Linked DNA regions of Homo sapiens: region 2 is linked to region 1. Evidence: promoter capture Hi-C in human tissues and cell types (Jung and others, 2019). All regions are on one chromosome and are shown on one strand. Each heading gives the region's core, a stretch centred on a gene start or on the middle of the fragment in contact. The rest is flanking DNA. Distances are from core to core; before and after follow the strand shown. Region 1 holds the start of KRT81 (keratin 81). Region 2 holds the start of KRT4 (keratin 4).

Evidence for each region. The method cuts DNA at HindIII sites, captures the fragments that hold promoters and counts their contacts. A contact is called where the count stands out against the background at its distance.
Region 2: the fragment with the promoter of KRT4 here is called in contact with the fragment with the promoter of KRT81 in region 1 in 1 of the 25 tissues and cell types used here (IMR-90 fibroblasts).

What each region holds. Positions count from the first base shown.
Region 1 is chr12:52,289,852-52,296,712 of GRCh38, forward strand. KRT81 (keratin 81) reads right to left here and starts at 1,683. Exons shown (of 9, transcript NM_002281.4): 1 at 1,246-1,683; 2 at 227-435. The coding sequence starts at 1,614. The region is part of intron 2 of KRT86 (keratin 86); the gene reads left to right. The HindIII fragment of the contact is 10,526 bases long and covers 1-4,020 here.
Region 2 is chr12:52,811,224-52,817,550 of GRCh38, forward strand. It overlaps KRT4 (keratin 4), which reads right to left and starts at 2,893. Exons shown (of 9, transcript NM_002272.4): 1 at 2,374-2,893; 2 at 540-754. The coding sequence starts at 2,835. RefSeq lists a silencer at 1,598-1,798 and an enhancer at 1,964-2,465. The HindIII fragment of the contact is 8,662 bases long and covers 1-6,327 here.

The DNA of each region.
Region 1 (6,861 bases), core at 433-2,932:
TTCAGGGAGAGAAGGCTGAAGTGGGACAGAGACAGGTCATGGGAGTCACAGCCCTCCTCTTACACAGGTGTCTGGGCAAAGATTCCACAAAGGAAAAGACCCCGCCACCCTCGGTCAATCTAGTGGTCATGGCCACTCACCCTACCTGGGAGTTCTTATTGTCTAATCCAGTGTATTTAACCTAAACCCCATTCCTGTGCCCAGCATCCCTCTTGCCCGCACTCACTTCTTCTTGTAGCCCTCCAGCACCTCCTGCACGTGGTTAAGCTCTGAGGCCAGCCTCCCGCTGTCGGCCTCCACGCACTCGGCCTCCCGCCGCAGAGTCTCGATGTAGCCCTCAAACAGGGGCTCCAGGTTGCTCTGGCAACACTCGCGGTTCTGGTAGAACTGCAGCTTTGTCTCCAGCAGTTTGTTCTGCTGCTCCAGGAAGCGCACCTGCCATTCGGTGTGGGAAGGTGGGGCAGATGGTGTCTGGTGCCCCAAAGCCAGCTCTGGGGGCTCGCAGGGGAGGTGCTTTAATGGGAACCCCCAAATCTGGAGCTTATCTGAGATTGAGTAGAGGTGGGCAGTGGGAGACAGACAATTTCTGGATTTCCTGGTCATGATCTGTGTCTAGATTTCCCACTCAGGAGTGGAGCAAGGGCTGGGTGGTGTCAGTGCCTGCTCCCTGGGGAGTTGAGTGACCCCCCCCCCCCAACCCAAGCAGATGAACAGAAGTGGAGGCTCAGTCCCTCACTATGAAACTAGGTGATCAGCAACCCACACAGGCAGAGTACTCAGGTTCAGATCACAGATGAGGTTTCTGGGGATGGTGCCAGGAAGAGGGTGTCACAGGCCATCTGGAAGGGAGCTCAGCTGTCCCAGCCCTTCCCCTGTGTCATCTGGAAGTCAGTGCACCCTACTCTCTCACCCTGGGGCTGCCCAAACCCCTCTGAGTTCAGCAGCAGTGGTCACATGCCCCCCTCCCCCAACTCCCTGATGTCTAGCTTGTGCCCCAGAGCAGCCTGGCCACACTTTTCCTTCACAAGCTCCCTCTATCTGAACTGTCAGCTGAGTCTGCATCTTGAGTGCCTGTGTGTGTGTGTCTGTGCATGTGTCTGTCTGTCTGTGTGTCTGTGTGCCTCGCCCATCAGACTGGGATCTCAGGCAGGCAGAGGTCTTTGTGCCTCTGACTCCATCCTTAGTGCCCGGCCCTGGCTGTGTAGGTGGTGGGGGTTCAGGAAGGGTGTGATCCAGGACACCCACCTTGTCGATGAAGGCCGCGAACCTGCTGTTGAGGGACTTGATCTGCTCCTTCTCCTCCTGCTTCACGCACTGCGCGTTGGGGTCGATCTCCAGGTTGAGGGGCGTGAGGAGGCTCTCGTTGACCGACACGGTGGTGATGCATGGGGGACTGGGCCCGCACACGCCCCCGGAGCGGTAGCCGAAGCTGCGTCCGCAGGAGCCGGCCCGAAAGCCTCCGCACACGCTGTGGCTGCCGAAGCCCCCGGTGAGGCCGCGGTAGCAGGAGATGCCACGGTAGGGGGCGGCGGTGATGCAGCAGCGGCCGGGCCGCGGCCCGCAGGCCGAGATGCAGCTGAAGGCGCGCCCACCAAATCCTGATCCGCAGGTCATGATCCTCCTGGACGTTTGGGTTGCAGAGGACAGGATAGGGGACCTGGAGTCCTGATGGAAACTCCAATGTGCTCCTCAGGGCACCGCAGCCCTATTTATGCGCAGATTCTGAAGGGGCTTGGCTGTGAAGATGATGTTGGGGCAATTTGCGCTTTATGGGCTTGGGTGGTTAGCCGGGTCTAACGCCTCTCCAGAATGTGCTTTAATGGGGGAGTGGCCTGCACCCTCTTCTTTGTAAAAGATGTCAGTCTTGGGCTCTGGGGGAGTCAGCATGTTTCATCTTCAAAGTGTCTTGCCAGCAGGGCATTCCTTCATCTGCAGGCATTGGGGAGGGAAGGGGAAGGCAGAGGAGAGGACGAGAAGGAGGAGTAGAGCCTGGCGAGGGGAAGAGAAGGGAGGCCAGGTGCTGGGAGAAACTGGGAGGAGGAGACCTGTGTGTTAAGTGTGATGTGGGGAGAGGGGTTTCAGGAAAGGCTGAGGCATTAATAAATACCATCTCTCATTTCCATCACAGCTGTGGCTAAAGTGCTCCTGAAACACAAATCTGGATTTCCCCATCTCCAGATTTTTCAGTTGGCAGCTGAAAACCATCTCACTTTTCCTACCATGGGAACAGTCAGCAGATTATTAAATATTTGTCTTTTATCTTTTTTATGATGAAAGCTTTCAAATATTGAGGAAAATTGGAATAATACAACACACATGCATTGATGCTCCACCTGTTTACCCCGATTCAACAGTTAACATTATACCATATTTGCTTTCACAGTTGCCCAATTATTTGAGTGGCAGAAAGCATGGCATGTCACCCTTAAATACATCAGCAGGAATTTCTTAAGAATAAGGAGAGTACTATTTTCTTATTCAGGAAAATTAACAATAATTCCAAAGCACCACTTACTATTCATCTCAGATTCAATTTTCCTAACTGTCCTAAGGATTTTAAAACTACATTTTACATAATTTAATTTGTGGCTCTAGCCCTTGTATTTTCTATAAATTAGAAAGTAAATCTTGAGCTGGGATGTCCAATTTGGTAGACAATAGGCAGATGTGGCTACTTAAATTTAAGTTAGTAAAAACTAAATAAGTTAAAAATCTAGTTATTCAGTTGCACTATCCACATTTTGAGTCCTCAGCAGCTACCTGTAAGTAGTGCCTACCTTATTAGACAGTGCATATAAAGAACACTTCTTTATTATTTATTTTTATTTTATTTATTGTTTATTTTCACATAAAATTCTGTTGGACAGCACTGGGCTAGAGGCTGGATTAGGTTTAAATTAAACATTGTTGGGACAGAATACTTCATAAAATATGCTGTGTAACTCTTATTATATCACCCCAGGAAGCATAAAATGTCAGATTGGTGATGCTAAATTGAATCACAGCTGGGCGCAGTGGCTCATACCTGTAATCCCAGCACTTTGGGAGTCTGAGGGGGGTGGATCACCTGAGGTCAGGAGTTCAAGACCAGCCTCAGTGGAGGAGTTTAAGACCAGAGATGGTGAAACCCCGTCTCTACTACAAATACAAAAATTAGCCCGTTATGGTGGCACGTGCCTGTATTCCCAGCTACATGGGAGGCTAAGGCAGGAGAATTGCTTGAACCCAGGAGATGGAGGTTGGATCACTTCAGTACATTTCCCCCTGTATTAGGAAAAACTGTATAGAGAATTAGAATTAGAAAGAACTGTGTAGAGAAACATGGATCTTAGTTTGATAAGAATATGTTTCTTTTTAATTGGTCACCTACTATGTGATCATCATTATATATCGTAAATGATCTCTAATTCTCACATCAATCATATGAAGTATGTGCCATTATCCCCATTTTACTGATGAGGAAACCAAGGGTCAGGGAGGTTAAATAACTTGCCCGAAGTCTCCCAGCTGGTAAGTGATGGAGCCAGGAGTTGCATTGCCTTCTCACTTATAAGCTGTGACAACCCCTTGACTTCCTAATCTTTGGATAAGTTCAAGAGGGTAGTGAAAGTTGTTTACAGGGGAGTATCTGTGAATTTAGGGTGTGAGAGAGTCCATCTAAGGAAGACGGGCAGAGTCAGAGTGGATTGGGATGGTTAGAACCATGAGGGGTCATTTAGGGACACACGGCGATGTGAGGCTACTTGGGGGCTGGGAAGGAGTATGAGTTAGATGTGCAGCACCCCGTGGCTAAGAATTGAAGGACGGGGTGGAAAACATCAGTTTTAGTTATTTGCATACCTCTGGTATATGGCAATACTTTGATAGACTGTACTATGTTCTACTTACCCAGTGAACCACCCCCCACTCCAATAGAGCAGGTCCTAGAAAAATTAGCTCGTAAAGTACAGAGGTTTGCATTAAATTGAGGAGAAGAAAAGAGAAGTGAAATGGCCTGGCTTATAGCCCCCTGGAGCTGCTATGCTTCAAGGGCAAAGGCAGGCAGAGTAGACTTAGGGAATGAGAACAGAAGCAGGATTGATGGGAAAAGAGAGGAGAGGAAAAAAATAGAAGAGAATAGGGCTCTCAGGGTATCTGTGCAAAACATTCAGAGTGTGGCCTTGTGCAGGACAAATGTGGGAGGTCACAGACTGTGTTGAGCTATCTGGTCACCCCAGAGAAGAGTATGGCACCTGCTGTCCCTTTGTGAGTTCAGGGCTGCTGGGCCAGCACTTCTGAAGCTCTTTGTACCCTCATCTGGAATTTGGGGCACTGCTCACAATTGAGCAGTGATGTCCCCAGTAAACCAGCGGTTGGGTGTCCTGAGGAGCACTGTGAGTCAAAGTACATCTCATCCACACTTCACCTTTTCTACCAGTATAACTCCTTATAAAAACAACATGTATAAACACAAGCTAATTACTAATGGCTGGTCCTTACTAAGCAATTTTAAAGATGTAAGAATATGAAAAATTCAAATGTGACACCATTTCATTAAACTTCAGGAATTAATTGCTGCTAATTTTTGAAGACCTAAAAGGACATTCAACTTGTTTTCTTCAGAGTGAAAAAACCTTGTCATGGGGAAGGGAGGAGGGGAGGGAAGGTGGCAGGGAGGAGGGGAGGGAAGATGGCAGAATCTCCACTCTATGGTCTTGGCTCTGGCAAGGTAAAGAGGATAGATTTTAACTTTGTGGAGATAACAATTATTTTTATTGTGAAATATTTCAACACAAAAAATGCATAGGTGGTTAGATCTGTAGCAATACCTACCACTTATAGGAAAAAATAGAACATGTGTGTATTTCAGGAGCTTCCTATGTACCTTGTTCTGATTGTACCCTACTCCTTCCTGGCCTAGGGTGACTCCTCTCTTGCATTTTGTGTTTAATTATTCCTTTGCTTTTCTTACAGTTTTAGAACCAATGCACCCATCTTGCAATGACATATTGTTTCTTTTTCCAGCTTTTGAACTTCACATAAATGGACTCATGTTGCATGGATCCTTGTGCATCTGGTTTCTTTCATTAAATGTTGCTTCCTGTAGCTGTCCTGTGTTCATTTTCACTGTGGATTGCACTCATTGCATGGCTATACCACAGTTTATTTGCCTTTCTACCTCGATAGCCACAAGGTTGTTTCCAGAGTTCTGTAGATTGAACAGAGCTGCTATGAACATCCTTTCTCATGTCTTCTGGTGCATTTATGCAAGAGTTTTTCTGGGGTATGTGGCTATTTTTTTTAAAGTTATGTCAGTAGTAGATGTTTCATGTAGAAAGCTATTTTATGACTATTCTTCCAAACTTAATAATAAAATCTTTTGATGTTCATCTTATACCACACTAGATACTATTTTAAGAGTCCAACATGCATTAACTCATTTAATTTTTACAGTTGCCCTCTGAGGTTGGTGTTATTATTCTCGTTTTATAGATGAGGACACTGAGGTCTAGGGAGGTTAAGGCTCAGGTTGCATGTTAGTAGCAGAACTGGAACCCAGAGCCTGTGTGTCTGATCCCAAAGGAAGGGATGCGTTTGTCCCATTGCACTCCCTTCTGTACACCATCGGCCATCAGTAATAAGTATCACACAGTAGCTGGTGTTTGTACATAACATAAAAACACAAACACTCATCTTGCCCCATGCCCTCTGCAGGGCCCTGCAGGTTGCTCTCAGGGTTCAGGGCCAGAGAGTATAGGAGAGCTCACCCTTGTTCTTGGCAAGCTTCCAGTATTAAGAGAAAAGCAGAGACACATACCCAGATAATGAACAAAAATGGAAACCCTGCAGCACATCAGTGTGTACAAATGTTTTCTTCGTGGATATATTCCAAGGGCTTGTCACATAGTAGGTGCTCAATAAATATTTTTTGAATGAATGAAAAGAATACCAGCTGCATATTAAGTGCTGAGTAATGGAGCCATCAAAGCTTGGTGGTTTATTGTGCAAAGCTTTGTGGTAGGATAGGGTGGGGACACATGAAGCAGATGATGTGGCTATTCCTGGGGGTGGGGGTGGAGAGGGGTGACCTTCCTTGCTGGGGCCTGAAGGATGAATGAAGTGAGTGAGATGTGTCCTTCAACCAAGCAAAGTCCTTGGCTTGGGCTATAAGGGGGTGGTGGGGAAAGTCAGCCAATGAGAACAAGGATCTTGAAGGCCTTGGGGCAGAGTAGAGACCAGGTGTCGGATTGGAGAAGGAAAGAGAGAAGCAAATCAGAGGAGATTTCTAGGAAAAGAGGGAGAAAGAAATACTTGGTCTTAGACTATTATTCTCAGGGTGACTTAGAAGAAGAGAAGGAGAGTGCTGCATGGGTGGAGAAGAAAATGAGGGAGAGATCTTAGGAGATAGTCAGGAAGAGGAGGAAACTGGAGGACAGTGGAGGAAAAATGGGAGAAGATCTGGGAAGTATGGTGGAAGGGTCACTCCAGGGATGAAAGAGCAGAGGAGGAGGAGGTGGATGGGGGAAGCAGCACAGCACCAAGGGAAAGTGTGTGTAGGCCCACTGGAAGAGGTGGGCACTGTAGTTCCAGATTTATAGTAATGAACCCTCACAGGGCAGGGACATGGGGCGAGGGAGGTGCAGGCACCCAGCTGGTTAGTGGGATGAATGTTACCAGGGTGGAGCTTTTGAGTCAGGCTCCAGCCCCACCCAGGCATCTTACAGGGGCCTTCTGGCCCTTTGTCCAGTGGGACTCCTCTCTGGTGAGTTCTGATGGATAATTGGCCAGCGTCCTGGGCTCTCTTGGCTGAGAAGGCAGGGCTCTGACTTGGGCTCTCCCCAATCACCCACCCAACTGGCCTGAGGTCAATTCCATTATCAA
Region 2 (6,327 bases), core at 1,643-4,142, 520 kb after region 1:
ATCCCATAGTGAGTTTAATGAGAGGTGCTGTGTATTCAGTGTTCACTCTGTGTCCTGAAATATGCCACATGCTTTCTCTATTTCATTTAATTCCATTTAATTCTCACAACCCATAAAGTAGGAATATTATCCCCATTTCAAAGATGAATAAAACTGAAGCTCAGAGAGGTTCAGCTATTTACCCAAGGTCACACAGCTAGTAAGTGAGGACTCAGTATGCAAACCACCTCCATCTGTCTCTACAGTCTGTATTCTTCTAATCATACTATACTGCTTTTCATCTATTTGGGTTCTGATCTTGTTCGTATATGGCAGACCCAAATCCCTGAATCTATCATTAAATTTCCTTTCGGAAAAATCTGTGGTTACCAGACCTCACCCTGAGAAAACGTGACTATGTGGATGTAGCAAAACAGACTAGAGGGCCTTCCTAGACGCCTTCAGAGCCTGAGATTCTAAGCCACTGGAGAGAGCCCCGGGAGCCTGGGTGTGGCTGGGCACATGTGTCAGATGGCGTCCCCTCCTTCCTCCCCATGTACTTAGTCTTGAAGTCCTCCACGCTGTCCTGCATGGTCTTCAGCTCAGACTGCAGGCGCCCTTTGTCATTGCCCAAGGTATCTAGCTGCTTCCTCAGGACACTGAGGTAGGTCTCAAAGAGGGGCTCAAGGTTTTTGCTGGAGGTGGTGGTCGTCTGCTGCTGGAGCAGGTTCCATTTGGTCTCCAGGACCTTATTCTGTTGCTCTAAGAACTGCACCTGTGTTGATAAAGGCACCAGCCAAGTGATGAGGGCCTGAAGTGTGGCAGGAGGGCCAGCCAAGGCAACACCAACCCAGTCAATCCCAGGGAACTACACGGCCCAAGAACCACCCAAGTAGGGCCACTATGTTGCATCTCCAGGGCACCATTCACTCGGGTTGACATGATGGCCCCATTCTCGAGCCCATAGCACCAAGGGGTCACATAGGTTGTGGAGAATAGAGCACAGCCAGAGAAGCAGGGCCTAACAGTGCAACAAGAACAACTTCCTAGCCGCAGGCACCCAAAGCCCCAAAGAACATTAAACTTCTATGAAATAACAAAATAAAATTAAGAGACATCACAATCTGGAGGCTCTTGCATTCAAAGTGATCCTGACCCAAGGCAAATGAAAGACAAAGTCACTACAGACTTTTTAAATAAGCTTACTTATCAATGGATCTGGCGTGTCCCTGTGAACCTGTGAACAACTGAGTATAGATATTTAAAACAAGGGCCCTGTACGCATTGTCTCACCTAAACTCCATTCTGCAAAGGACTTTCCTGAACTTTCCCTCTCTCTATGAAAAAATCTAGCCAGACAAACCAGGACAGCAGCTTAGCATGACATTTCCATGTTATGAGCCTCAGAATTGAAAGGAAAGCAGGTAAGGCAGACCGATCACATTTTGAACCCAAAAGGTAAAATGAGATGAGATGAGACAAGGATGCATCAAAGAGCCCTGAGTTTTTGCTATCACATCTGCATGTCCTATAGTCACAGTAAAACCTCTTTAAGTTACTATGGGTTTATTCAAACTAGCAAGAAGAACAAATATGCACCTTATTCTATTCCAAAAGTGTTCATTCTTGCCCCATATGTCGAAGCTGCCCAAGACTTTGATGCCTGGTGAACCAGGGCAACCTGGACCAAAGGGAGGCACTCATCCACCCAGTCATCAATCTTTGGATGACTCGGCTCTCTGGGGCTGCACTGCTCACTATCATCCATCATGCATGACCATAACTGAGCTTAAAGAACTTGAACTTCTAGACGTTGCATGAAAAAGGAAGTTGGGCTACAAAAAGAAAAGAGACCTGTCTCCTTTCTTCAAACAGACCCAGACATGAGCAGTGTTGTCCAGTCAAAGGAATGAAAAAAGTAAATTTCCAAGGCCTTGGTGAGACCTAGAATCTGCCACTGGAGCCAGTCCCTTTTTCATTTGCAAAATCAGCTTAGTTGTCTTCTGTTCTAAGAACAGAAGTGGCCACTGTTAAGTGATTAATGGGGTTAACTGCATTATATTCAAAACCAAAATCTGAGAAAAAGCAGAGAAATAATGAACCCCCTTTATAGCTGGGATGACTAGAGCCAGAAAAGCCAAATGATTTGTCCAGTATCCCACAGCCTGTCTAGGGAATTCCAAACACTTAACTGCCTTGAGCATCCCACCTTCCCACCAGCCACGGGACAAAAAGGAAGGCTCAAAGTCATGATGCCCCTTCAACAGCTGGAGAATTGGGGCCCAGGGAAGTTCAGTGGTCTCCCCAGCACCTGTGGCAGGCTCAGGTCTGAGACCCCAGGACTCAGGACCCCTCTCTTCTAACTGCCCCTCTCCAGCCGAGGACACAGCTCACCTTGTCGATGAAGGAGGCAAACTTGTTGTTGAGGAGCTTGATCTGTTCGCGCTCTTCCGTCCGGACTTTCTGGATCTCAGGGTCAATCTCCACGTGGAGGGGGGTGAGCAAGCTCTGGTTGATGGTGACCTCCTGAATTCCCCCAGCGGGGCAGACGGGGAAGCCAGGGCCACCCTTACCACTGAAGGAGCCCCCAAATCCACCACCAAAGCCACCAGTGCCAAAGCCTCCAGCACCCCCAAAGCAGGCACCTTGTCGTGACCCAGCCACACTCATGGAGATGCTTTTGTTCCCCCTGAGGTTGTAGAGGCTTCTGCTGCCAAATCCCCCAGAAGAGCATCGGCCAGCACCTCCAGACATGGAGACTGAGCTGAAGGCACCTCTCTTGCCACCGCCTACAATGGCCGAGCCACAGCTGAAGCCCCGGGGCCCGCCTCGGACACACTGCTGTCTGGCAATCATGGCTGCAGAGAGCGAGCTGGGAGCTATCAGAGAAGTGACAGGGCCCAGGCCGGTGAGTGCTGGAGCCCTCAGCCTTCGTCTCTTATATGTCCTGGAGCAGCAGGGCTTGGTTGCAGGGGCATAAAGGGAAAAATCTGAAACATCTCTGGGCTTGGCCCTTGGCACAAGCCCATCCTTCCCGCACCCGTTGAGCATGTCACTAAACACACCTACAGAAGTCATCTGGAGGGCACAGGTTACTGGATCCCATCACACTACTCTCTGGGAGAACCTGAACTGGTGCCCCAGGGCTTCCTAATCAGAAGCCCCTGCCTGGGCCCAGCGCTCCAGGCCCACACCCACTGTACCTCCATCTCGCTAGGCTCACAGCACCTCCCTCCTCCAGAAAAGACACCCCATCACCCATCCTCTCACCCCACAGAATGTGGAGTTAGACAGCCTGAGTTTGAGCGCACAGCCTGCCACCTCCTAGCTCTGCAAACCGGAGCAAGTCACCCTCTGAGGCCCAGTTGCTTTCCCTGTAAATTGGAAGTAATACAAATATTTGCCTTGCCACTTCTCAGGATAGAGTGAGCTAGTGATTAATGGAGTGCTCTGTAAACTGTCAAAAGCCACATGTATATTTGTCATTCTTAGCATTCTTATTCCTCCACATGTTCTTGGCTCCATGTACCTATAAAAAGGGGAAATATTCTGTATTCCAGCCTTAGCCTTCCAACCTAGATCCAGATTCACTTCAACTTGGCCAACAGCTACTGAGAAACTGCCAGGCATGGAGCTAGGTACTAAGGAGATGGGGGAAGACAAAACACCTCCCCAAAGAAAACCGTGACTGTCTTTCTCAGCCCTGGGTACCCATGCTGCCCCGCAGGCCTCCCTTCAATCTGTGCTTGCACAATTCTAGATGGGCGTTCTCCAGCGGGGTCTGGTGGTGTGCACTCTGCTGCTCCATTTGCTGTCCAGTTGTTTGCTAGGTGTGTTCTGGTTTTCTGTAATGGTGCAGAATTCAGGGCAGGAGTTCATAACTTTTTTGCTGCTGGGGATCCCTTTGGCAGAATGATGAAACCTATGGATCCCTTCTCAGAGCAATGTTTTTAAATGCAAAATCCTAGTTTTAAGCCATAACTTAAATTCTTCCCAACTGAACAGTAACAGATCTGTGTTCAAATCCCTCCTGTTGCCACTAACTAGCTGTATAACCTTGGGTGGGCCAACTAAGCACTCTAAACCCATCCAATATGGTTTGGCTCTGTGTCCCCACCCAAATCTCATCTTGAATTGTACTCCCATATTTCCCACACATTGTGGGAGGGCCCCGGTGGGAGATGATTGAATTATGGGGGCGGTTTCCCCCATACTGTTCTTGTGGTAGTGAATAAGTCTCACGAGATCTGATGTTTAATAAGGAAAAACCCATTTTGCTTGGCTTTCATTCTCTCTCTTGCCACCACCATGTAACAAGTGCCTTTTGCTTTCTGCCATGATTGCGAGGCCTCCCCAGCCACATGGAACTGTTAAGTCCAATAAATCTCTTTCTTTTGTAAATTGCTCAGACTCAGGTATGTCTTTATCAGCAGCGTAATAATGGCCTAATACACCATCCAATCCATCTTCTCATCTACCAAATGGGACACCTGCCTCACAAGGAATTAGACAATGTCCCCATGGTGCCTGGCATATAGGAGGTCAGCAGGCATTCATTCTCTTCTTTCCCAGGCTTTGCCATTGCCATTTACAGGGAGAAATCTGGTGTGTTTGTTCTCCCTCCTTTCCTCAATTCCTCATAGATGAAATGACCCCAGGTCTGAGGAAGAGCAGTCACCAGCACCTGGATAATCCCACAGACCCAAGCTGCCCCTAGCTGAATGAAAGCTGGCCAGGGAGAGAGTGAACGGCTGCCTCCATGCACAGAGAGAGGGCAGGGGCCAGTGCTGAGGACAGAGTGGTCAGGAGATCCCACCCCAGACGCAGGGCTGCAGGGAAGGCCAGGCTGGCTGGGAGTTCAGCCAGCTCCTTCTCCAGCCACTTCCTCCCTTGTCCCCATTCCCCCAACCCCTCCCTCCCCTACCTCGGGTCTGTCTCTGCCAAGATGGCCTCTAAGTAAGTGGAGAGGGGGTGGAGGGGCTGTGGCCATGAGGACTGGAGGCCCCAGGCCCCATCACAGGAGAATGCCCGCGTCATGGGTCAGTCCACCTGCAGTAGGTGAGCATTCTAGAGCCAGAACCATCTCCTAGAAGGAAGGGGTTGGACTTTCACTGATCCTTTCTGCCCAGATTCACCAAGCGCCGACTTCGTGCCAAGCTCTGTGCTGGATGCTTTACCTACATTTGATCAACTAGTCTACTTAGAGGCTCTATGGAGTCAGCACCATTAGCCTTCCTTACAGAAACTCAGAGAAGTAAAGTAGCTCCCAGGGTCACACAGCAGCACGTGGTGGAGCCAGGATTTAAACTTACATCAGTCTGGTCCCAAAAGTTCCATATTCTTTTTTTTTTTTTTTGGTTTTTGTTTTGGGTTTTGTTTTTGTTTTTTTGAGACGGAGTCTCACTCTGTCGCCCAGGCTGGAGAGCAGTGGCGCCATCTCGGCTCACTGCAAGCTCCGCCTCCTGGGTTCACGCCATTCTCCTGCCTCAGCCTCCCAAGTAGCTGGGACTACAGGCGCCCGCCACCGCGCCCAGCTAATTTTTTTTTTTTTTTTTTTTGTATTTTTAGTAGAGACGGGGTTTCACCGTGGTCTCCATCTCCTGACCTCGTGATCTGCCCGCCTCGGCCTCCCAAAGTGCAGGGATTACAGGCGTAAGCCACTGCACCTGGCCCAAAGGCTCCATATTCTATAGCCTCTCACTCACACTGTTCTGCCTGGTATAAAGCCACTCTGTCTAAATTGTGTCACAACCAATCCAGAATGTGCACCCAAATAAATCTGATGGAACTGACTGTTCGGGTCAAAGGGGCTCTGGGGGCACTAGCATCCCAGGGTCTATCGATTTCCACTGTTGCTCCTAAGGTGGGCATGGCTTGGAAGGAGGGTGGGAGCTACTGCAGGTCTTTGCGGGCTGCAGCTGCAGGAGCTGAGGAGACATGTGAGCCTCCCACTTGGGAAGCTGAGGTCCAATTGACTGGTTACCTGCCCCAGAGGACATGGCAGGGCCATCAGGATCTCACCCTGAGTGATGGCTGGAGCTCACCCCCCGGCTGCCTCACCTCAGCCTCTGCACCTGCCGTTCACTGCTTTCTTCTCTGGTAGCCCCTGGGATTTGATGGGGACTATCACAGGCCGGGGTAGGCTTTGCCTGAGCACAAGTGAATCCCTGAGATGGCTCATAGTGTGCTTATTGGGTCTTTTACTCTATGGCTGTAACACTCCAACACTAGGAGAAAATGGCATGGGTTCACTGCCCCTAGAGTTGTGTCTACTGCTTAGAACAAAAAGCAAGCCAGGAGCCAAGGGGATTTTCAGGGAAACAATATAGAATATGTAATCAGTCTTAT